7 separate regions of the Homo sapiens genome follow, and all the other regions are linked to region 2. The links are contacts of gene promoters, found by promoter capture Hi-C in blood cells and fetal thymus (Javierre and others, 2016). All regions are on one chromosome and are shown on one strand. Each heading gives the region's core, a stretch centred on a gene start or on the middle of the fragment in contact. The rest is flanking DNA. Distances are from core to core; before and after follow the strand shown.

Region 1 (3,327 bases), core at 538-3,037, 190 kb before region 2:
CATGGTGAGGGAGAAAAAGAAAAGAAAAGAAAAAAAGATTGATCTCATAGAGGTAGGGAGTAGAATAGTTACCAGATGCTGGGATAGGTGTTAGGGGTGAGAGTAAAGATCGGTTGGTCAATAGGTACAAACATGTAGTGAGATAGAAGAAATATGTTCTAACACTTAATAGCAAAGCAGCATGACTATAGTTAACAACAACGTATGGTATATTTCAAAATAACTAGAAGAGGGGACTTGAAATGTCCCCAACACATAGAAATGACAACTATTCAATGTGATGGATACTCTACATACCCTGACTTGATCATTGCACATTCAATCCAAGTAACAAAATATCATATGTACCCAATAAATATGTACAAATATTATGTGTCAATAAAAAGTTTACCAAAAAATCATATGCTGAGGTTGCTAAGATCCACTATAAGAATAAATCTATCTATGAAACTGTGAAGAAGAAAAAAGAAATTCGTGCATAGTATACATATAGGGTTTGGTACTAGCCACAGTTTCAGGCATGTACTCAGGGCTTTGGAACATATCTCCCATGGATAAGAGGGAACTACTGTATAATGAAAACTATAAAATACTACTGAAAGGAATTAGAGAAAACATAAATAAATGGAAAAGTATCCCATTTTCATATTATTGGATAAGATTGCTAAGATGTCAATACTACTCGAGGCAATCTACAGATTCAATACAATCCCTATCAACCTTAGAAACATCAAAATACCAATGAGGTTTTTTGCAGCAAAGATAGAAAATGCATCCTAAAATTCATACGGAATCTCAAGGCATCTTCAACAGCCAAAACAATGTTAAAAATGAAGAACCAACCTGGAGGACTCGAGCTTCCTGATTTCAAAATTTACCACAACACCTTTACAACATTTACTAATCACACCACCATGGTACTGGTATAAAGTCAGATAAGTAGACCAATGGAATAGACTAGAAAGCCAGAAATAAACTCTTACATATATATTCAAATGCTTTTCAATAAGAGGACCAAGACCAATGGAGAAAGGACAGTTTCTTCAACAAATGGTGCTGGGAAAACCATGAAACCACATGCAAAAGAATGAGGTTGGACCCTTACCTAACACCAGAAACAAAACTTAACTCAAAATGGGTCAAAGACATAAACATAAGACCTAAAACTATAAAAACTTTTAGAAGAAAACATAAGGCAAAAGCTTCATGACAATGGATGTGGCAGTGATTTCTTGGATATGACACCAAAGGCACAGGCAACAAGAGAAAAAATTGACAAATTAGACTTCATAAAATTTTTTTAAATTTGCACATCAAAACACACTATCAACAAAGTAAAAAGGCAACCCACAGAATAGGAGAAAATATTTGTCCATATAGCTGATAAAGGATGATATCTGGAATATAAAGGGATATCCATCAACTGATGAACAGATAAGCAAAATGTGGTATATACACACAGTGGAATACTACGCACCCTTAAAAAGGAAGGAAATCCTGTCACATGCTACTGTGTGGATGAACCTTGAGCACACTATGCTAAGTATAAATAAGGCAGTCACAGAAAGACAAATACCGTATGAGTCCACTTACATGAGGTACTCAGAGTAGTCAAATTCATAGAGATGGAAGGTAGAATGGTGGTTGCCAAGGATGGGAGGAGGGTTTTACGGAGTTACTGTTTAATGGGTACAGAGTTTCAATTTTGCAAGATGAAGAGTTCTGGAAATGGATGGCGATGATGGCTACACAACAACGTGAATGTACTTAATGCCACAGAACTGTACGCTTAAAAATGGTTAAGATGGCAAATTTTATAAGCATTTTACTGCAAGAAAAAAAGAAACCAGAACTGGATGATCTTGGAAACTTTCAGCCTCTCCAGATGGCAAAAGATGCTAAAATTGGCACACGCCTGTAATCCCAGCACTTTGGGAGGCTGTGGCAGAAGGATTGAACCCAGGAGTTCAAGACCAGCCTGGGCAACACGTTGAAACCCTGTCTCTACAAAAAAATACAAAAAATCAGCCAGGCGTGGCAGTGTATGCCTGTGGTCCCAGCTACTGGGGAGGCTGAGGCGGGAGCATCACTTGATCCCAGAAGGTTGAGGCTGCAGTGAGCCAAGACTGTACCAATGCACTCCAGCCTGGGCGACAGAGTGAGACCTTGTCTGAAAAAAAAAGATGCTAAAATTAAGAGATTCACTATCAAGGAAGTATACACTAAAGAAAAGGTCAAGGATGTGACTGTGCTACGTTTTGCTAAAACCTTAGAAACATCAAAAGGTCAGAGTATTCAATCATACAAAGGGCCCTTTCAAGAGAGTAAGAGCGTACCTCACAGATCCTCTCAATTAAACCAGAAAGCCTTTAGGAAGCTTAAAGGTACTGTCCCTTAGGTTTCTCAGCAGGTGACCAAGGTAGGGAAAGATTTATCTTCAAAAGATTTGTATATGTGGCCTTTGTCTAATAGAATGAATCTCAATGAAATCCACAGAAGACCTACAAAGTTCTTAGAAAATTATGTCAGCAGAAATACAGCCTGTTTGGATTGAAAGGGCCAAAGAGTACAAAATGACCCCCAAAATTCTACTGGCAGACCCCCAAAACTCTACTGGCAGTAAGCAGGCAGGATAAAACTACCTAGCTGCCACGTGTGCTGCCTTTGTGAAAAAGGAAGAATGGCTCAGAGGGTGGAGTCAGTTACCCAGAGGACCCAGCCCTACTCAGCCTCCTATTCCTACTCCTTTCCACCATAGTGGTTGTTACCCCCTGGGTTTTGCCACTGTCCATTCTGGTTTGCAATCCCATTCAGGACCTTTTTCTCGTTTAGTTATCTTTATAGCCCCACTTAGGATCCCACCTTGCTCCATTTTCTTTGTCCTGTTACCAGCCAAATGCTATCCCTTACCTACCTTAAAAAGTTTCTGGGAGTGTTTAATCATAAAAGCCATCCCACTGTTTAACTTTGTGATATTCTCCTGAAGGTCATTTGCAGTGACCTATTCAGAGGAAAAGAAACCAAACAATGGACATTAAGAGCTAGAAAGTAGTACTTACCAATAAGCCTGTTCTTTCAAATGTATGAAGTTTCTATCCCTAGCCTAGGTGCCTCTAATACAATGTTTAATTCTGGGAAGACTTTTTGGTTCATCAGGATATGACATAATCTAGAAAAACAATGTGTCCCTGAAGTGACGAGGAAATCCTTGAAAACCATTTTCATTTCCTAATTCTGCTTGAAAATTAGACATGTAAACAAAATTGGCAAGGAAAATCTAGTCTAGGATTCAAAATGGGCAGAAAAAAACAGAATCTGTTCCAGCTA
Region 2 (3,130 bases), core at 625-3,124:
TCTGTTTCTTATTTTATTGCACAGGCTGAAATTTCCACAAAAATGTTACATAATAGCGGCTATGCTTGTTTTCTTCTATTTTAAGTGAATACTTGCAGAGTTTTCTCTTTGAGCATGGTATTGGCTGTTGGTATAAGACAGATATTTTGAGCCTCATCTTTTATCAATCTCTCCGTTGCTCACAATGCTTCAGCTCTCCTGGCCTTCTTTCAGTTTCCCCAACTTACTAAATTCTTCCCACTTTCAGATCTCTCTTCAACCTATTCTTTCTGCCAGAGCTGCACTCTCTCCACCCACCTGACTCTTACCTACTCTTTAGATGATTCAGCTTAAATGTCACTTCTGCTGACTAGGATGGGTTTGCCTGTTACATGTTCTCAAGGTGCCCTGTAATATTCTTTCAAAGCACCACCACATATGTAACCATATGCTCATTTGAGCATTTATTTGTTTACAATTTGTGTCTGTGTCCTTTGATAGCAGAAACCAAGTCAGCGCTGTGCCTGACACATGAAAATACTCAAGTGATATCTATGAAATGAACAAACTCAGGACTGTTAAGAACATTCCCAACAATGACTGAATAGAAAGCCCCTTGAATCAGACAGCTTAAGTTACTTACTCAAAGCAGAATCAAAGTCAAGTTAGCCAGAACGTAACTGTTCTAATTCTGAATCCTCTTTCTATTGTGCTCCTTCAAATATTGCTTATATGATCCTGAGCTAATCCTGGATCTATCTCTGAAACTAGAAAGGTAGGTATTACTCACACATTCAACATTTATTGAGGAGCTGCCTTGTGCTATATACGGATGGTATGGTGGTAGGGCCTGCTTTCACGGACTTAGATTTAAGCAGGGGAGAAGTCTAGTAGGAAACATATACCTGAGTGTCTCATCATATGCTGACATAGTGCTTGGAAGAAAAGGAACAGAGTTTTTTGTGAGTCTTTAACAAAACAAACAAAAACAAAACACCCCACAAAACTCCTTTCCTCAATTAGTGGGTCCAGAAGGACTTCTCTGAGGTGATAGTAGAGAAGCTATCTAAAGGAGGTAGGAATTAAATAGGCCTAGGAAGATAGAAGCGTTCCAGATAGATGGCATGTTACAAAGGCTCTGTAGCAGGAGAAAGCTTGGCGCATTACCGACACTGAAAGAAGCTAGTATGTTATAAAAAATTTTTAAAGGGCAAGCAGAGACTGTGATTATAACTTTTAAACACAGAAAAGACAGTATGACTAGATTGCGTCAGTGAGGTGGAGATAGTGGCGCTAGATAAAGTCGGAAAGGTAAGCAACATTCATACAGTATGCAACTCACTGCTGGGCTGAGCTGGGCTGGGATGGGATACTGAGTTCGCATCTGCTTTTGTCCCAACTTCCCTCCCCGAGGGTCAGCAGCACAACCAAGCGAGATCAACACAACTAGTGTGTGGTGGCTAAGTGCACCACAGCGGCGATACGGCTAGAAGAAACTAAGAGACCAACATTGTACCACTGAGGCACTAAAGACGCGTCCGCAGTGCCCATGCCTAAGGACTGGAACTCAAGGGCAGCCTAAGGGAAAAACAGAGGGGAGATGGCATGCCGCTTCCTTTACCGCGCCATTCTCGCTGCTCTTCATCAGACAGCCGGCAAGCGACGAAAAGATGTAGCCGTGGCGGGTGTAGGTGCCGCTGCCCGGGCTGCCCTCCTCCAAGTTACACAGACGTTCGCCTGCAGAAAAAATGCTGCATCGGTCACGGGCCCCCAGAAGCTGTAGGCCGTTTAGCCTTCTTGCTTCAGCCCCTATCCAGGACTCTGTACGGGAAGCGCTCACTTACCGGGGATGCAGTATCTCACAGGTGGCGCCATGATTGCCGCTGTCCCAAAACCAGGATGAAAACGAAGTCGATTTCTCATTGGCCAAACCCAGGCACAGTTCCGCAGTAAGACACGTGTCAATTGGTACTCTTTATCCTTGCGAGTAAACTCCATTTCCCAGGTTACCCCGGGACAAATCCGGGGGCGGAACTTCAGAGGTCCACGCTGGCGCCTGCGCGTGTGGTTGAGGATGGGCTGGCGGCGGGTCCGGGTCCGCTGCCTGGCGCTGCGGGCGGCGGGCCATGGTGGTTTGGATTGAGCCGGGCCCGGCCGGGGCGCCGAGTCGGAGGGGGTGGCAGTGAGCGGCGGCAGAGGCTACGGGGCTCGGTTTGGCTGACTGGGGAGTCGGCAGGCGGCAGGTAAGGGCGAAGCCTCGGCCCTTGCTCCCCATCCTAGTCCCTTTTTCTGGGTAGGGCACTGCCCTGGGGCCTTGTCTTGAGTGCGGGTTCCTGCTCTCTCCTCGCCCCGCCCTGCGGGGCCGTGCCCTCCTCAGCCCGAGCGCACCTTCCGAGCAATCGTTACGCTCAGAGCAGGAGGGAAGGAGGTCAAGCGACCCAACTCGTCTGTTTCACAGATATGGAACCTCAGATTCAGAGACAGGGTTTGACTTGTCCAAAATGATCAAGATAGTTAAGATAGAGCCCAAACTGGAACCCACGGTTTTTGACTTCCAGTCCATCGCAGTTTCACCTCGCGGCTGTCATTGAGAAATAAAACCTTTTCCCGGTTTTTTTGTTTTGTTTTTGAGGAGTCTCGCTCTGTCGCCAGGCTGGAGTGCAGTGGAGCGATCTCTGTTCACTGCAACCTCCGCCTCCCGGCATCAAGCGATTCTCCTGCCTCAGCCTCCCGCGCAGCTGGGACTTACAGGCGCGCGCCACCACGCCCAGCTAATTTTTGTAGTTTTAGTAGTGACGGGGTTTCACCATGTTAGCCAGGATGGTCTTGATCTCTTGATCCGCCCGCCTCGGCCTTCCAAAGTGCAGGGAGTACAGGCATGAGCCACTGCCTCCGGCCTTTTCCCGGTTTTTTAAACTGCAGCTTCCAGTCCTGCGGTCCGATCCTCTTCGCGGCCCCTCATCCCCACTTCAGTAAGCTTTCTCTGGTTGAAAAAGCCGAACTCTGGTTGTGTGGGCCCGTCATCAAAAGATAAGCAGCCCCAAAATAAAGTTGTTACTCTTTTTCTTCTCAGCGTGTTAGCCCAGAAGGGAGGTCTGCACATGAATAAAATGCTACTCTTTATTGATGTTGGGTATCTCCTACTTGAGAT
Region 3 (3,329 bases), core at 430-2,929, 210 kb after region 2:
CCTTAAAGATGTCTTCTCAGGTTTAGATAGCAGATTCTATGAGCAAAGAGATTGATCAGCAGTAGAAACTTCCCTTCCGTTTGAGAGGAAAATGTGACTATTGTGGATATTTAACCATGTCTGCTCCTTTGCTACTAAACTCCAAACAATTAGCCAACTAGTTTGTAAGTTATAGAAGTCAGAGACCACTTCTCAAGATTTCCTCTCTCATTCTCAGCACCTAGCAAAATACTATATTTATAGTAAGCATTCATGAAGTACCAGCTGAGTCAGTAAATGAATATGAAATCATGAGAAACAATACCAAAGTTCTTCCAACTTTAGGTCTAGCGAGAAAATGTTTGACCAGGCTTCTAGTTCCCATTTCACATCTAATTCACTGCCTGGCTTTGTACAGCTCATTCCTTCTCTTTATGCCTTACTTTTCCCTCTCTGTGCAGATAGTTTTACAGCATGCTTTGAACATCTTGTATGATAATTAATGTTCTTAAGTCTCCTAACCTGAAATGCTTCTACTAGGCTCCTCTTAGACTCTAGAAACTTTTACATTCTCCTTGCTTATCACTCTATAGTTTTCTTCCTTTACTAGGCAAATAGCAGACCGTGTCTGGCTCTATGCCTACCTGCTCTGTTGGTGCTTCTGGAGTGTGGTGCCCAAGAATCAGAGGACTTGAGTTTGAATTCTTGCTCTGCAGTTTTTGATTTGTGTAACACTTGGGCAAGTCATGTAACCTCCCTAGGCTCAGTTTCCTTACTGTAAAAATAGGGATATAAATAGTTCCTACTTTGTAGAGTGGCCATCAATATTACACAAGACAGCCTATATGAAGCACATAGCTGAGTGAGTGCCAGGCACAACGTAAACCCTCCATATGTTAGCCTGTGATATTTTTATCAGCTATTCTAATCGTTAGTGTCACCCCCACAATCCCTTTCGTCCCTATCTTTGGTCTTCCTCTTTCCCTGTTAGAGAACCTTCACGAGGCCTGAGGATCTTTTGCATCAGAAAGTCAGCAACAACAAAAATACTTGTCTTGGCTGGGCTCATTGGCTCACGCCTGTAATCCCAGCACTTTGGGAGGCCTAAGTGGGTGGATCACCTCAGGTCAGGAGTTCGAGACCAGCCTGGCCAACAGGGTGAAACCCTGTCTCTACTAAAAATACAAAACTTAGCTGAGCATGGTGGTGCGTGCCTGTAATCCCAGCTACTTGGGAGGCTGAGGCAGGAGAATCGCTTGAACCTGGAAGGCAGAGGTTGCAGTGAGCTGAGATTGTGCCACCACACTCTATCCTGGGCAACAGAGCGAGACTCCGTCTCAAAAAAAAAAAATACTTGTCTTCCATGAGACTGAGATGAGACAGAACTTTGGAAGCTTAACATATAGCTGCTGGAGAATAGTAAGAGGACTCCTCTCCCTGTCTCCCCAACTCTTGTGACAGGACTCTATCCAGTTGATCAGAGCATCTGTCATTATAGAAACAAGGTTCACATTGCATTGGAACTTCAAATGGTAAGGCTCTAATTCTCACTCACTGGCTGTCTCTGCTCTCTGCTCCTATGAGGTTTCAGGTTATGATAGTTTCATTAGTCATGGGGAAAAAGTGGTTTGTTAGGAAGAATGATAGAAAATAAATATGATGGGGGCAAAAGGGGATTTATGGCTTGAGAGAGCCAGGAGTTTCACTGTGGACACTGGCAAGGTAGCCTTAGGAAAGCTCTTTTTCCTTCATTCCTATGCCTGAGTTTTCTGATTTGTAAGGCAGGGAGTGCCTACTACAGTACCATGCACATCCATTTTAGGTAGTCTATTAATACTAGATGGTAGCATGGAGCGATAGATGAGAGGCAGTTATTTTGCCTCTCAGGTTCATGGGAAAAAAAATAGTTATTTGTAATAAATTTTACAAGGCTTAGGAAAATACCTTTCTTATAAGTTTGATTTTAGGTATTTATATGCTAAAACTCACTTGTTGCTGTCTCTGAAAGAAGCTTGTAACTCATTCTTCATTCACTTAATAAATATTTAATGAGCATATGCCAGCTACTGTGTTAGGTGCTGTGGATGCTAATATAAATAAGATGTTCTCCGCTTCCTCAAATCTCATTCATTTTAAAGGAGGAGTTAGATATACAAATGGATAATTACAAGACAATGTGATAAGTGTGACAATAGATGCATATGTGGATTACAATTACGTCACTGCAATTTGACTTAAGTATAATATTGATGGCTCATAAAAATTTTTTTTAGAATAAGTAATGCATGCATCTAGTATAAAAATCAGAAGGCACATAGGGTAAACAGAGAAAAGTAATTCAGACTCCCTGCTACCCCTATCTCCTGGCCATTCAGTTTCCTTCCTCAGAGGCAGCCAGGATTACAGTGTATAGCCTATACATAAAAATAGCAGTTAATTAAAATGAAAACCAATTTTAATGTTTGTGTTTTGAATACGAATAATTTCACAAAGTAAAAAAATTCAAAAGGGCCCGGGCACAGTGGCTCATGCCTGTAATCCCAGCACTTTGGGAGGCCGAGGTAGGAGGATCACCTGAGGTCAGGAGATCAAGACCAGCCTGGCCAACATGGTGAAACCCTCTCTCTACTAAAAATACAAAAATTAGCCAGGAGTGGTGGCACACACCTGTAATCCCAGCTACTTGGGAGGCTGAGGCATGAGAATTGCTTGAATGCGGGACTTGGAGGTTGCAGTGAGCCGAGACTGTGCCACTGCACTCCAGCCTGGGCAACAGAGTGAGACTCTGTCTCAAAAAAAAAAAAAAAAAAAAATTTTTTTTCAAAAGGAAATGAAGGGGTACAGAGTAAATTGCAACTTGTTTGTCTCTGGAAAGAAGATGGGCATTTGGCCTAATCTAACCCAGGAGATGACAGTGTTAATCCTTGTACTTCATACTAGCTGCTGTAACAACCCTTAAATCTAAGTGGTTTAATACAATTGGATTGTATTTCTTTTTTATCATATTTTTTTTGGGACAGAGTCTCCCTCTGTCACCCAGGATAGAATGTGCAGTGGTGCGATCTTGGCTCACTGCAACCTCTGCCTCCAAGGTTCAAGCCATCCTCCCACCTCAGCCTCCGAAGTATCTAGGATTACAGACGTGCACCACCATGCCTGGCTAATTTTTGTATTTTTAGTAGAGACGGGGTTTAACCATGTTGGCCAGGCTGGTCTCGAACTCCTGACCTCAAGTGATCTGCCCACCTCGGCCTCTCAGAGTGCTGGGTTTACAGGTGTGAGCCACCACGCCTGGCCAGGAGTGTATTTCTTGATTACATCTCAGACTCATGCCAGATAGGCAGCTCTCC
Region 4 (3,326 bases), core at 806-3,305, 150 kb after region 2:
AAGGTTTGAGCACTTTCTCCTGACTCCATAAGAATGACAGCTAACACTTATTGAGCACCAGGTTCTATTCGAAGTACTTTATAAATAGTATCTCATTTAAACTTCAAAACAACTCTGAGAGGCTGGGTGTGATGGCTCATGCCCATAATCCCCAGCACTTTGGGAGGCCAAGGCAGGCGGATCACCTGAGGCCAGGAGTTCGAGACCAGCCTGGCCAACATGGTGAAACCCTGTCTCTACTAAAAATACAAAAATTAGCCGGCATGGTGTCAGGTGCCTGTAATCCCAGCTACTCAGGAGGCTGAGGCAGGATAATTGCTTGAGCCTGGGAGACAGAGGCTGCAGTGAGCCGAGGTCGCACCACTGCACTCCAGCCTGGGCAACAGAGTGAGACTCTGTCTCAAAACAAAACAAAACAAAACTCTGAGAAAGGCACTAATATCATCACTATTTTTTAATTGAGTTAGCCTGGGCTTCTCTGACTTCAGGGCCTGTGCATCTGACCCCTCTTCTGTGAGCCCTCTGCTTTTCTGCTTTTTCCCCAGTCCCTGCTTCATTGGAGATCCTGGCCTTTTCCTCTCCTCTGGCCCCCTCTCTACACTAACAGGGACACATCAGGCTCACACCTGGACATCTAACCAGGGTGAAGGAGGGGCTCTTTGGGGTACCCACTCACAGATTTCTGGGACATTTTCTTATCCTTTAAAACAGTCCTATAAGCTAGGATTGAAATGATTTCACTGTCATCCCATAGAAAAGGAAACAGACTCAAAGATGTGATGTGACTTGTTCAATATCCAGAGGTGACTCTTGAGTCTAGTGCTGCCCTGACTACGCCACACTCCCTCTTCTCCAGCCAGGCACTTCTTCCTTCTTGGGAGTCAGGCATGAGTCAGTTGCCCCCTTCAATGAGACAGAAGAGAGGGCTGTGTCATAGAAGCTTTGAGCACAGTGTCTGCTTCTGACTCCCAGAGTGCAAGCCTCAGCTGTCCTGCTGTTTAGACCAGCTCCACCTGTAGGGCCCCTGGAACTGACCAGCAGGATGAGAGGTGAAGGAAGAGGGTGATGGTGGCTGAATCAGTGGCCGCAGCAAGAACCTGCCCCAGCCCAGGACGGCAGGCAGGGTTGGGGAGGAAGATGACTTTGGTATTGGAACAGAGAGAGTGGCAAGAGTTTGATCTTTGACTCTTTAGTCAGAGGGTGCTGGTCCAATCGTAGCTAGATTGGAGTCCTCACCCAGGGCTGGCAGCTTTTACGGAGAGCACTGCAGCCCCATGTAGCAAGACACAGGGAGGCCCTTCCTTGGGCTGCTAGCCTGACACACAGGAATCAATCCCCCAGAAGCAATCCCACAGGAGCGAGAAGCTGTGTGCCTCCAGACGTTCCCTGCAATGTTACCAATGCAAAATAACTACCAAAAAAAAAAAAAAAAAAGCAGCTAAATATCCAATGAGAGATATCCTGATATCCTGGCAACTCACTCTGGAATCTGACGGTGTAGTGAACAGCATGGAAAAAGTTGGTGGAATGAAGTGGAGTCTACATCACACAGTGTCCCCTGAAGGATGACTCACAGGAACAATTTCTCTTGGTCCCAGTGCCAGGAAACTCTGTGTTTCTCCGGGGCAGTTGCTTTGCTTTTATCTTTTGGGTTCTACATGTCTGTTAGCTGACCATGTTTCCCTTTTAGCTCTGGCTATCAGGAAACTCCACATCGAATTTCTGGCTCATTTCTCACAACTATATGGCAGGAACTTTGTATACCAATACTGCTTGTGGCCTTATTTTCATTTCCTTCTCCCAAATAGCCTCCAATTTTTTTTTTTTTTTTGAGACAGGGTCTTGCTCTGTCACCCAGGCTGGAGTGCAGTGGCACAATCATAGTTCACTGCAGCTTCAAATGCACCTGGTTTATTTATTTTTTATTTTTTTGTAAAGTCAGGGTCTCACTTTGTTACCCAAGGTGGTCTCGAACTTCTGGCCTCAAGTGATCCCCCCATCTTAGCCTCCTGAAGTGCTGGGATTACAGGCCCAAATATCCTTCTATTAATTAAGAATCCTGTTGTATTGTACTCTGTGTTTGTAAACTACTGCCATTTTTTTTTTCTTTAATGGAGTGGGATAGAGAGGAGAAAGAAGAAGAAAGAGAAAGTTAAGCGGGCTGGGCACTGTGGCTCACCTGTAACTGGTACAGGTATACTGGTTAGACATATCCCAAGTAAGTGATTGATAAAAACAGGAAAACGCAAAATAAAGCAATGAGATTCACTTTTCACCCAGAAAGTTGGCAAAAATTTGTTCTGACAATACCATGATTTGGCATGTATGACATTCTATGCTGCTCCTGAGGTCTACACTGATTGATTAGAAATGTGGCGCACAGTCAGGCATGGGGGCTCATGACTGTAATCCCAGCACTTCTGGAGGCTAAGGTGGGAGGATCACCTGGGCCCAGGAATTCGAGCCAGCCTGGGCAAAATAGTGAAACTCCATCTCTACAAAAAAAACTACACAAATTAGTTGGGCATGGTAGCTCATGCCTGTAATCCTAGCTGGCTAAGACAGGAGGATCACTTGAACCTGGGGGGCTAAGGCTGCCGTGAGCCGTGATTGTGACACTGCACTCCAGCCTGGGTGACAGAGTGAGACCCTCAAAGAAAAAGTAAATACATAAAAAATGTGTCACAGATGAAGGTGCACATAGCTATGACTCAGCAATTAACACACCAAAGTATCTGAACTCTAGAGGAACTCTTAGACATATGCACAGAAGACTTTACAGAAAATGTTTGTTTCAGCATTGTTTGCAATAGCAAATAGAAGAAAACATTCTTTTCTTCTTTTTTCTTTTTTGGTAGAGACAGGTAGGCCATTTTTTGGTAGAGACAGGCAGCCATGCTGCCCTGCCTGGTTTTGAACTCCTGGGCTCAAGCGATCCACCCACCTTGGCCTCCTAAAGTGCTGAAATTATAGGTGTGAGCCACCAGGCCCAGCCAAAAGAAGGAAACATTCTAAATGCTCTCAACAAGAGAATGACAAATAAATTGTGTTCTAACCTTACAACAGAATACTATACAGCAATTAAAATGAATGAATCAGGGCTACGTGTGCTTTTATGAACAAAGCTCAAAAAATAGTATTAAACAAACAGCAAACTGCAGAAGGCTATTTAAGCTTAATTCCATTTCTACAAGGCTTAAAATTGTAATAACCTTATTACATAAGGATCACTTGAGCCCAGAAGGTCGAAACTGCAGCAAGCTATGGTTGAGCCACTGCATCCCAGCCTGGGCAACAGAGTGAGACCCTGTGTCTAAAAAAGAAAA
Region 5 (2,958 bases), core at 43-2,542, 240 kb after region 2:
AACCCAGGCCTCTCTGATGCTAAGGCCCAGGTGCCGTAGCACAAAGGTAAGAGAGGAGTTGTGGAGCTGGGCTACCCGAGTTGGAATCCCACTTCTACCCCCTCCACCACTTACTGGCTGGGCATCCCCCCTGCCTCAGCTGCCTCCCGTGTCAAATTATCACCTAGTACTACTACCTACTTTGTAGGATTAATTTGAAGATTGAAGGAAGACAAAGTATATAGAATAGTGGTCAGTGTTTTCAATCTATAAAATTGAGACATCATCCCACCTCCTATCTTTAAGACCCTGGGGATGAACCAAATCTGTATAATTTAGCAAACATAGTATGAAATGAGCCAATCAGATCTAACCACAGTCCAGTGGACCTAATGAGCAAGAGGTGGAGGCAGAAGAGGAGGCTACAAGGGTTAGAATATACTGTCAAGGGCAGAGACTGAAACTTATAAGAAAGTTCAATAGAAGTTAGACTCTGTGTCAATGTCTCCCATCATATCCAGGAAGTGAAAATTAAAGGATCTCCCTTGATTCTAGATAGTTCACTTTGAATAATAAAGGCCTAAGAAGCTTACCCACCCATCCTTGTCTCCAGCACAGCCTGGAAACAAGGGAAGCCTGGCATTACATAGAACAGGTTTTGAGTTCCAACTCTGACACCTTAAGCAAGTTACCCAACCTCGTCTCTGAGCCTGTTTCCTTAACTGTCAAATGGGGATAAGATTACCCACTTCTTAGGGTTATAGTAAGGATAAATGAGCCCAGTATATCAGTTACCCAATAAGAGCTAAATAAAATTATATCAGTTACCCAATAAGAGGATAAATAAAAAATTTAAGAATACAATGATATGGCTGGGCGTGGTGGCTCACACCTGTAATCCCAGCACTTTGGGAGGTGAGGCGGGCGGATCACCTGAGGTCAGGAGTTCAAGACCAGCCTGACCAACATTGAGAAACTCCGTCTCTACTAAAAATACAAAAGTAGCCGGGCGTGGTGGCGCATGCCTGTAATCCCAGCTACTCGGGAGGCTGAGGCAGGAGAATCACTTGAACCCAGGAGGCAGAGGTTGCGGTGAGCCGAGATCCCGCCATTGCACTCCAGCCTGGGCAACAAGAGCAAAACTCCGTCTTAAAAAAAAGAATACGGCCGGGCGCGGTGGCTCACGCCTGTAATCCAGCACTTTGGGAGGCCGAGGTGGGTGGATCATGAGGTCAGGAGATAGAGACCATCCTGGCTAACAAGGTGAAACCCCGTCTCTACTAAAAAATACAAAAAATTAGCCGGGCGCGGTGGCGGGCGCCTGTAGTCCCAGCTACTCGGGAGGCTGAGGCAGGAGAATGGCGTGAACCCGGGAAGCGGAGCTTGCAGTGAGCCGAGATTGCGCCACTGCAGTCCGCAGTCCGGCCTGGGCGACAGAGCGAGACTCCGTCTCAAAAAAAAAGAAAAAAAAAAAAAAAAGAAAAAAAGAATACAATGATACAACAATTAAAAAATACAAATAAAAAATAGATACATTGTAACTACAAAACATTCACATTGTATTAGGTATTATAAGTACCCTAGAGATGATTTAAAGCATGCAGGAGGATGTGCGCAGTCTATAGGCCAACATGGCATTTTATGTAAGTGACTTAAGCGTCCCACGGAGGAGCCTGGAACCACCCTCCATGGATACTGAGGAATTTATAAACGCAAATCCTCCTCTGTTGGCCTCTGTGACCTTTGTACCTGGGTCAGGGGTACAGGTAAACCCTCCTCTTTCCTCTAAGCTGTGTGGCACAGCCAGCTGATGACAGGCCTGTGCTCCCACCCATCTCTCCCAGCCCCAGGCCTGCTGGGGAGAGGAGGAGCAGGTCCTGCTGCTTCTCCAGGGCCTGGTTGCCTAAGTCAGACCTCATTCCACAGCCAGCTACAGAGACAGCTGTCAACAGCAACCAGCTTCCAAAAGGGGAAAAGGAACATTAAAATATTTTTAAATTAAAATATTTACATGCTCATCATAAGAGGCAAACAGTACAAAAGCTTATATATAAAAACTTTTCCAATTTCCTATCAACCCACTTGCAGAAGTAACCCTTCCCCTAACCTGCCTTTTGTTCTCTGTAAGAGTTTGAATTGTCTCCGCCCCACTCATACTCCCAAAATATGACTCCCCCCCTTGCCCTGGCCTTCTCCGCTCCTCACCTCAATAGTCACCCTCATTATCCCAATCATTTCTATGCTCACTCTGTCCCAGTTTCCAGGCCTTCTATCATAAAAACTCCACCCTGTTTTCAAAAGATTTAACAACTACAATAAAGCTGCAGAAGACTTCCAGATGAGTTAACGTCATGAAAATTGTATTTTATTTGGAAAATGGAAATTTAAAAATCTGCCTCTCCTTAGGTGCTATTATGAAAATCCAGTTAAAACCTAATCTATATGGTAATTAAGCCCCCAGAGCTGGATGACATAAACACACTGTGACAAGAAGACAACAGTCGCCAAGTAACACTTTTAGGCTGATAAAAAGAAAAGCTAACTATGGGATATTTACTCTGGATCAGGCAATACGTATGATATCCTTTAATCCTCAAAACAATTCTAGGAGTTAGGGACTGTTATCCCATTTCACAGGGAAGTAAAGGGAAGCTAAGATGCAAATATGAGTACCAGTGGCTTAGCCGAGGCCAGAGGTGGTTCAAATGACTGCAGCCCATGCTTTTATTTTTATTTTTTTTTTGAGAGTGAGTTTTGCTCTTGTTGTCCAGGTTGGAGTGCAGTGTTGCAATCTCAGCTCACTGCAACCTCTACCTCCTGAGTTCAAGTGATTCTCCTGCCTCAGCCTCCCGAATAGCTGGGATTACAGGCGTCCCCCACCACTCCCGACTAATTTTTTGTATTTTTAGTAAAGACAGGGTTTCACCATGTTGGTCAGGCTGGTCTTGAACTCCTGACCTCAGGTGATCCACCCGCCTT
Region 6 (2,917 bases), core at 41-2,540, 210 kb before region 2:
CTGCATTATAAATATGAGCAGCAATATTCAGAACATTCTGATTTAATAAATAATTTACATGAGAGGAGTTCTGGAGGAAAAAACTCTAGCCAAAAAAGGGATCCAGACAGGCTAGATGGTCAATTATACCTTGATAAGGCTGAGGGAAAACACAAAAATAATATTTTAGGCCGGGAGCGGTGGCTCACGCCTGTAATCTCAGCACTTTGGGACGCTGAGGCGGGTGAATCGCTGGAGGCCAGGAGTTTGAGACCAGCCTGGCCAACATGGTGAAATACTGTCTCTACTAAAATTAACTGGGCGTGGTGGTGCATGCCTGTAATCCCAGCTACTCGGGAGGCCGAGGCATGAGAATCACTTGAACCCAGGAAGTGGAAGTTGCAGTGAGCTGAGATCATGCCACTGCACTCCAGCCTGCACACCTAGTGAGACTCTTGTCTCACCAAAAAAAAAAAAAAAAAAAAAAAAAAAAAAGACTAACACATAGAGGAACATTTATCTGACTATAACTTTTCTGATTCTCAATCATCTCTATGACAGGGAAGTCAGAGGGAATGACAGATTCTTCCAAATGAGAAGAAAAAAACAAGAGTAAACTAACGATGTTCGTTTTACTAGCCCTGTCTAAGCAGGTAAATGCACTTTTAGGATTCTAGCTAAGGGATTTTTTTTAAACAATGATAAAATGAACATAACATAAAATTTACTATTTTAACCATTTTTAAGTATACAGTTCAATGGTATTAAGTATATTAATAGTGTTGTGCAACCATCACCATCATCTATCTTCAGAACTTTCTCATCCTCCCAAACAGAAATACTGTACCCATTAAATAATATCTCCCCATTCTCCTCATACTCTTAGCTCCCCTGACAACCAACCACCTTCTCTACTTTCTGTCTCTGAACTTGACTCACAGGTACCTCAGTGGAATCATACAGTATTTTTCCTTTTATGACTGGATTATTTCTCTTAGCATAATATCTTCAAGATTCACGCATGTTGTAGGATATGTCAGAATTTCTTTCCTTTTTAAGGACAAATAATGTTCCATTATCTGTATATCCAAGGTTTGTCATCCATTCATCAGTCAATAGACAGTTGGGTTGCTTCTGCCTTTTGGCTTTTGTGAATAATGCTGCTATGAATACGGGTGTACAAATATTGCCTCAAGACCCTGCTTTCAATTCTTTTGGTTATATACCGGGAGTAGCATTGCTGGATCACAAGGTCATTCTATTTAAATTTTTTAGGAACTGCCATACTGTTTTCCACAGTGGCTCCTCCATTTTACATCCCTATCAATAATGCATAGGGGTTCCAAATTCTCCACATCCTCATCAACATTTGTTATTTTCCGTTGTTTTTTTTTTTTTTTTTTTAATAATAGTCATCCTAGTGGGTGTGAAGTGGTATCTAATTGTGGTTTTGATTTACATTTCCCTAATGATTAGTGATGTTGAACATCTTTTCATGTGTTTCTTGGCCATCTGTACATCTTCTCTGGAGAAATTTCTATTTAAGTCCTTTGCTCACTATTTTTTTTTTTTTTTTTTTTTTTTTTTGAGACAGAGTCTCGCTCTGTCACCCAGGCTGGAGTACAGTGGCTCAATCTCGGCTCACTGCAACCTCTGCCTCCTGGGTTCAAACGATTCTCCTGCCTCAGCCTCCTGAGTAGCTGGGACTACAGGCACATGCCAACATGCCCGGCTAATTTTTTGTATTTTTAATAGAGATGGAGTTTCACCGTGTTAGCCAGAATGGTCTTAATCTCCTGACCTCGTGATCCGCCCACCTCAGCCTCCCAAAGTACTGGGATTACAGGCGTGAGCCACTGTGCGCGGCCTCTGCCCACTCTTTAATGAGGTTGTTTTTGCTGTGTTGAGTTATAGGAGTTCTTTAGATTATTATGGATATTAATCCCTAATCATAAATATGATTTGCAAATATTTTCTCCCAATCCAGGGTTGCCTTTTCACTCTGTAGATGGCAAAGGAAATTTTGATGTCAAGTAAGCCTAATGTCCTAGAAGCTACTGGCCCCAGGAGGTCAGGATTGAGAGTGAATTCTAGATATCTATAAATTATAACTAGGACCAAAATTACAGTAAGATGAATTTGTAAATGCTAACAGCTGTACCTCAAAAAAAAAAAATTACAGACACAGTGGCTCACATCTGTAATCCCAGCACTTCAGGGGGCCAAAGCAGGAGGATCACTTGAGCCCAGAAATTCAAGACCAGCAACACAGGCTGGGCATGGTGGCTCACGCCTATAATCTCAGCACTTTGGGAGGCCGAAGCGGGCAGATTACTTGAGGCCAGGAGTTCAAGACCAGGCTGGCCAACATGGTGAAACCCCATCTCTACTAAAAATACAAAAAATTAGCCGGGCATGGTGGTGGGCGCCTGTAATCCCAGCTACTAGGGAGGCTGAGGTGGAAGAATCACTTGAACCCTGGAGATGGAGGTTGCAGTGAGCTGAGATCACGCCACTGCACTCCAGCCTGAGGCATAGAGCGAGACTGTCTCAAAAAAAAAAGACCAGCAACACAGCAAGACCCCATCTCTACAAACATTTAAAAATCAGCCAGGTATGATGGCATGCACTTGTGGTCCCAGCTACTTGGGAGGCTGAAGTAGGAGGATCGCTGAGCGCCCAGGAGATCAAGGCTGCAATAAGCCATGATGGTGCCACTTGTACTTCAGCCTGAGCAGCAGAGCAAGACCCTGTCTCAAAAATAAATAAATAAATAAATATTACAAGTTATTTATTTTTAGGGCAAAAATTTTAAATTTTAAGCAAAGAGCTCCCTGTGTTGCTGGAATTATATATCTTAATAACAAAGTAATTTTTAAAAGAAAAGCAGGGCAAAACACCAAAAATAAAAACAAAAGGAAGCCATCCTCAGCAAACT
Region 7 (3,413 bases), core at 410-2,909, 180 kb after region 2:
ATTTGAAGAGAGGCCTGGTGCAGTGACTCACACCTGTAATCCCAGCACTTTGGGAGGCCGAGGTGGGAGGATCACTTGAGCCCAGGAGTTCAAGACCAGCCTGGGCAACATAGCAAGACCTCATGTCAAAAATGTAAAATTAAAAAACAAAAAATAGGCCGGGCGTGGTAGCTCATGCCTGTAATCCCAGAACTTTGTGAGGCCGAGGTGGGCGGATCACGAGGTCAGGAGTTCGAGACCAGCTTGGCCAACATGGTAAAACCCCATCTCTACTAAAAATACAAAAATTAGCCGGGTGTGGTGGCGGGCACCTGTAATCCCAGCTACTCAGGAGGCTGAGGCAGGAGAATTGCTTGAACCCAGGAGGCAGAGGTTGCAGTGAGCTGAGATCACACCACTGCACTCCAGCCTGGGTGACAGAGCAAGACTCTGTCTCGAGAAATAAATAAATAAATAAATAAATAAATAAATCTGAAAAGAATCTCATGGATTTAGCCCAACCTCTCATTTTATAGGAGAAATAGAAGCCCAGAGAGGTAATAAAGTTTGTTGACAGCCTCCCCTGACTATGCTAGTCCTTTTTTCCTGTACAGCACAGCCTCTGCTTTTAGCTCAGGCTAACTTAAAGAGACCTTTGAAAGCTGGGCATAAGAGTTTACAGCATATGAGGGAGGAAAAGAGGCGACCTCTGCGGGTTTGTGAACCAGGATGTAATATGAAGGCAGTGTGTAAGGAAAATGAATGTGGTAGCACGAAGTGGGATGAATTGGAGCAGCAAGTCCATAGTCAGAAAAGCTTGCAAGGAAGGGAAATATGATAATGAAGCAAATTGTAAAAATGGGCAGAGTTATTCTCCCTCCGTTCATGACCCTACAATGTGACAAGGCAGATCCTCCCATTAAGAGGCAGAGTTGGCCGGGTGCGGTGGCTCACGCCTGTAATCCCAGCACTCTGGGAGGCGGAGTGGGTGGATCACCTGAACCAGAATGGCCAGCATGGAGAAATCCTGTCTCTACTAAAGATACAAAACATTAGCAGGGCGTGGTGGCGGGTGCCTGTAATCCCAGCTACTCGGGAGACTGATGCAGAAGAACTGCTTGAACTCGGGAGGCAGAGGTTGCAGTAAGCCAAGATCGCACCACTGCATTCCAGCCTGGGCGACAGAGTGAGGCTCTGTCTAAAAAAAAAAAGAGGCAGAGTTTATTTATTCCTCCACCTGCTGGACCTGGGTTGGCTGTGTGACTTGTTCTAGATAATGGAATGTTCGCAAAGGTGATCTAGCAGAGGTCTGCAAAGCACCTGTGCACTGGGCTTGCCCTCTTGCTACACTTGGACCTGTTCTGCCCCCATGTAAATGAGTCCAATCTAGTCTACTGGATGGTGAGACCCTGTCCCAGCTGGCCACAGATGAACAAATTGCTCAGGCAAGACTAGAAGAACTGCCCTTCTGAGCCCGGCCCCAAACTAGCGACCACAGACTCACAGGATAAATAAATGGTTATTGTTTCAAGCCACTGTGTTTTCTGGTGGTGTGTTATTACCCAGAAAAAGCTAACTGATACGTTCAGGCATGAGTCTGGGAGATCACAGTATAATGGGAGCAGAAGGAACAACTGGGGGGATACATCATAGGAAAACAATCAGTAACATTTGGGGACTGGCTAGATATGGCTTCACATTAGTGGTGAAAGGATGTATTGAAGGATATTCTATAAGAAGGGAACTGCACGGTGGCTCAAACCTACAATCCCAGCACTTTGGGAGGCTGAGGCTTGCGGACCACTTGAGCTCAGGAGTTTGAGACCAGCCTGGGCAATATGGTGAAACCCCATCTGTACCAAAATTACAAAAAATCCAAAAATTAGCCGGGTGTGGTGGTGCGTTCCTGTAGTCCCAGCTACTTGGGAGGCTGAGGTGGAAGGATCGCTTGAACCCAGGAGGCAGAAGTGCAGTGAGCCAAGATCACGCCACGACACTCCAGCCTGGGCGACAGAGGGAGACCCTGTCTCAAAAAAAAAAAAAAAAACGGAAGAAGAAGAAGAGGGAATTAAGATACCCCCCAAAATCATTAAATATAAACAGAGGCAAATAGTACGTCATTTGATAGACTAAAAAATACAAGCCCTATTTCTTTTTTAATTCCCTAGGTCTCTTCATTCATCCCTTCATCTTTCATTTATTTATTTATTTATTTATTTATTTATTTATTTATTTTTTAGAGACAGGGTCTTGCTCTGTCACCCAGGCTAGAGCACGGTGGCACGATCATAGCTCACTGTAACCTCAAACTCCTGGATTCAAGGCATCCCGTCACCTCAGTCTCCTGAGTAGCTGGGACTACAGGCGCACACTACCACATCTAGCTACCTCCTCATCTTTTCCAGATCTAAGCAATACAATGTTTTCTCCAGTAATTTTGACAATGCAGATTCCTAGGCCCAAACTCAGACTTACTGAATCAGATTCTGTAGTCAGAGCCTGGGAACCTGCAGTTTTAATAAGCACATCATTAGATCCTTACTTCAAAGCTTGTGGCCTACTGCTACAATAAATGGAAATACTGTGTGTGAAAAGTTCTCTGAACTATAAATCACTATTGAAAAGTCCTCTATCAACCAAGCATGGTGGCTCATGCCTGTAATTCCAGCACTTTGGGAGGCTGAGCAGGGACAATTGCTTGAGCCCAGGAGTCTGAGGCTGCAGTAAGTCATGACAGTGCCACTACAGCCTGGGTGACAGAGCGAGACCCTGTCCCCCTCCAAAAAAAAAGTCCCCTCTGATTAATAAGTAACCTAGAGTCTGACCCTCAGGCATCTGACTGAGTTCCAACAGGACAAGGACACATTCTCCTCAGAGTACTGGGGCCAGACCTGGTGGAGAAACAGGAAAGAATTCTTTTTTCTTTTAGAGACAGGGTCTCATTATGTTACCCAGGCTGGACTTGAACTCCTAGGTTCAAGAGATCCTCCAATCCCCTCTTAGACTTCTGAGTAGCTGGAACTACAGGTGCATGCCACTGCTCCCAGCTCAAAACAAGACGGGATTCTTTTTTTTTTTTTTTCTTTTTTTGAGACAGAGTCTCACTCTGTTGCCCAGGCTGGAGTGCAGTGGCATGATCTCGGCTGACTGCAAGCTCTGCCTCCCGGGTTCATGCCATTCTCCTGCCTCAGCCTCCCGAGTAGCTGGGACTACAGGTGCCCACCACGACGCCCCACTAACTTTTTGTATTTTTTAGTAGAGATGGAGTTTCACCGTGTTAGCCAGGATGGTCTCAATCTCCTGACCTCGTGATCCGCCCGCCTTGGCCTCCCAAAGTGCTGGGATTACAGGCATGAGCCACCGTGCCTGGCCGCAAGATGGGATTCTTAAATCTCGGGGGCCTGGCGCCAACAGCTAGCTTCCTTTTCCTTCAA

The links. Contacts are between HindIII fragments. The CHiCAGO score rates a contact against its expected background, and 5 or more counts as called.
Region 1: a contact is called between a fragment that was not itself captured here and the fragment with the promoter of EXOSC1 in region 2, in 1 of 17 cell types (neutrophils). The highest score is 5.3, in neutrophils.
Region 3: a contact is called between a fragment that was not itself captured here and the fragment with the promoter of EXOSC1 in region 2, in 6 of 17 cell types (M1 macrophages, M0 macrophages, endothelial precursors and 3 more). The highest score is 7.3, in M1 macrophages.
Region 4: a contact is called between a fragment that was not itself captured here and the fragment with the promoter of EXOSC1 in region 2, in 1 of 17 cell types (endothelial precursors). The highest score is 5.3, in endothelial precursors.
Region 5: a contact is called between a fragment that was not itself captured here and the fragment with the promoter of EXOSC1 in region 2, in 1 of 17 cell types (erythroblasts). The highest score is 5.8, in erythroblasts.
Region 6: a contact is called between a fragment that was not itself captured here and the fragment with the promoter of EXOSC1 in region 2, in 1 of 17 cell types (neutrophils). The highest score is 5.3, in neutrophils.
Region 7: a contact is called between a fragment that was not itself captured here and the fragment with the promoter of EXOSC1 in region 2, in 2 of 17 cell types (endothelial precursors and M0 macrophages). The highest score is 7.5, in endothelial precursors.

What each region holds. Positions count from the first base shown.
Region 1 is chr10:97,253,404-97,256,730 of GRCh38, forward strand. It overlaps ARHGAP19 (Rho GTPase activating protein 19), which reads right to left. Exons shown (of 12, transcript NM_032900.6): 6 at 2,915-3,001. It overlaps ARHGAP19-SLIT1 (ARHGAP19-SLIT1 readthrough (NMD candidate)), which reads right to left. Exons shown (of 15, transcript NR_037909.1): 6 at 2,915-3,001. Among named protein-coding and RNA genes, the nearest start is that of ARHGAP19, 38 kb to the right of the region's middle. The HindIII fragment of the contact is 1,175 bases long and covers 1,201-2,375 here.
Region 2 is chr10:97,444,132-97,447,261 of GRCh38, forward strand. It overlaps EXOSC1 (exosome component 1), which reads right to left and starts at 1,875. Exons shown (of 8, transcript NM_016046.5): 1 at 1,824-1,875; 2 at 1,601-1,716. The coding sequence starts at 1,854. It overlaps ZDHHC16 (zDHHC palmitoyltransferase 16), which reads left to right and starts at 2,044. Exons shown (of 12, transcript NM_198046.3): 1 at 2,044-2,222. RefSeq lists enhancers at 1,004-1,584, 1,585-2,164 and a silencer at 2,096-2,305. The HindIII fragment of the contact is 1,823 bases long and covers 1,132-2,954 here.
Region 3 is chr10:97,652,599-97,655,927 of GRCh38, forward strand. All of the region lies in intron 2 of PI4K2A (phosphatidylinositol 4-kinase type 2 alpha), which reads left to right. Among named protein-coding and RNA genes, the nearest start is that of PI4K2A, 14 kb to the left of the region's middle. The HindIII fragment of the contact is 617 bases long and covers 1,372-1,988 here.
Region 4 is chr10:97,595,293-97,598,618 of GRCh38, forward strand. The region is part of intron 1 of HOGA1 (4-hydroxy-2-oxoglutarate aldolase 1); the gene reads left to right. Among named protein-coding and RNA genes, the nearest start is that of C10orf62, 7.2 kb to the left of the region's middle. RefSeq lists an enhancer at 980-1,274. The HindIII fragment of the contact is 2,234 bases long and covers 939-3,172 here.
Region 5 is chr10:97,680,453-97,683,410 of GRCh38, forward strand. The region is part of intron 1 of AVPI1 (arginine vasopressin induced 1); the gene reads right to left. Among named protein-coding and RNA genes, the nearest start is that of AVPI1, 5.3 kb to the right of the region's middle. The HindIII fragment of the contact is 1,455 bases long and covers 566-2,020 here.
Region 6 is chr10:97,230,616-97,233,532 of GRCh38, forward strand. The region is part of intron 9 of ARHGAP19 (Rho GTPase activating protein 19); the gene reads right to left. The region is part of intron 9 of ARHGAP19-SLIT1 (ARHGAP19-SLIT1 readthrough (NMD candidate)); the gene reads right to left. It overlaps LOC105378447 (a long non-coding RNA gene), which reads left to right. Exons shown (of 3, transcript XR_946226.3): 3 at 541-623. Among named protein-coding and RNA genes, the nearest start is that of SLIT1, 46 kb to the left of the region's middle. The HindIII fragment of the contact is 6,324 bases long and covers 1-2,917 here.
Region 7 is chr10:97,620,685-97,624,097 of GRCh38, forward strand. All of the region lies in intron 1 of MORN4 (MORN repeat containing 4), which reads right to left. Among named protein-coding and RNA genes, the nearest start is that of MORN4, 11 kb to the right of the region's middle. The HindIII fragment of the contact is 1,733 bases long and covers 794-2,526 here.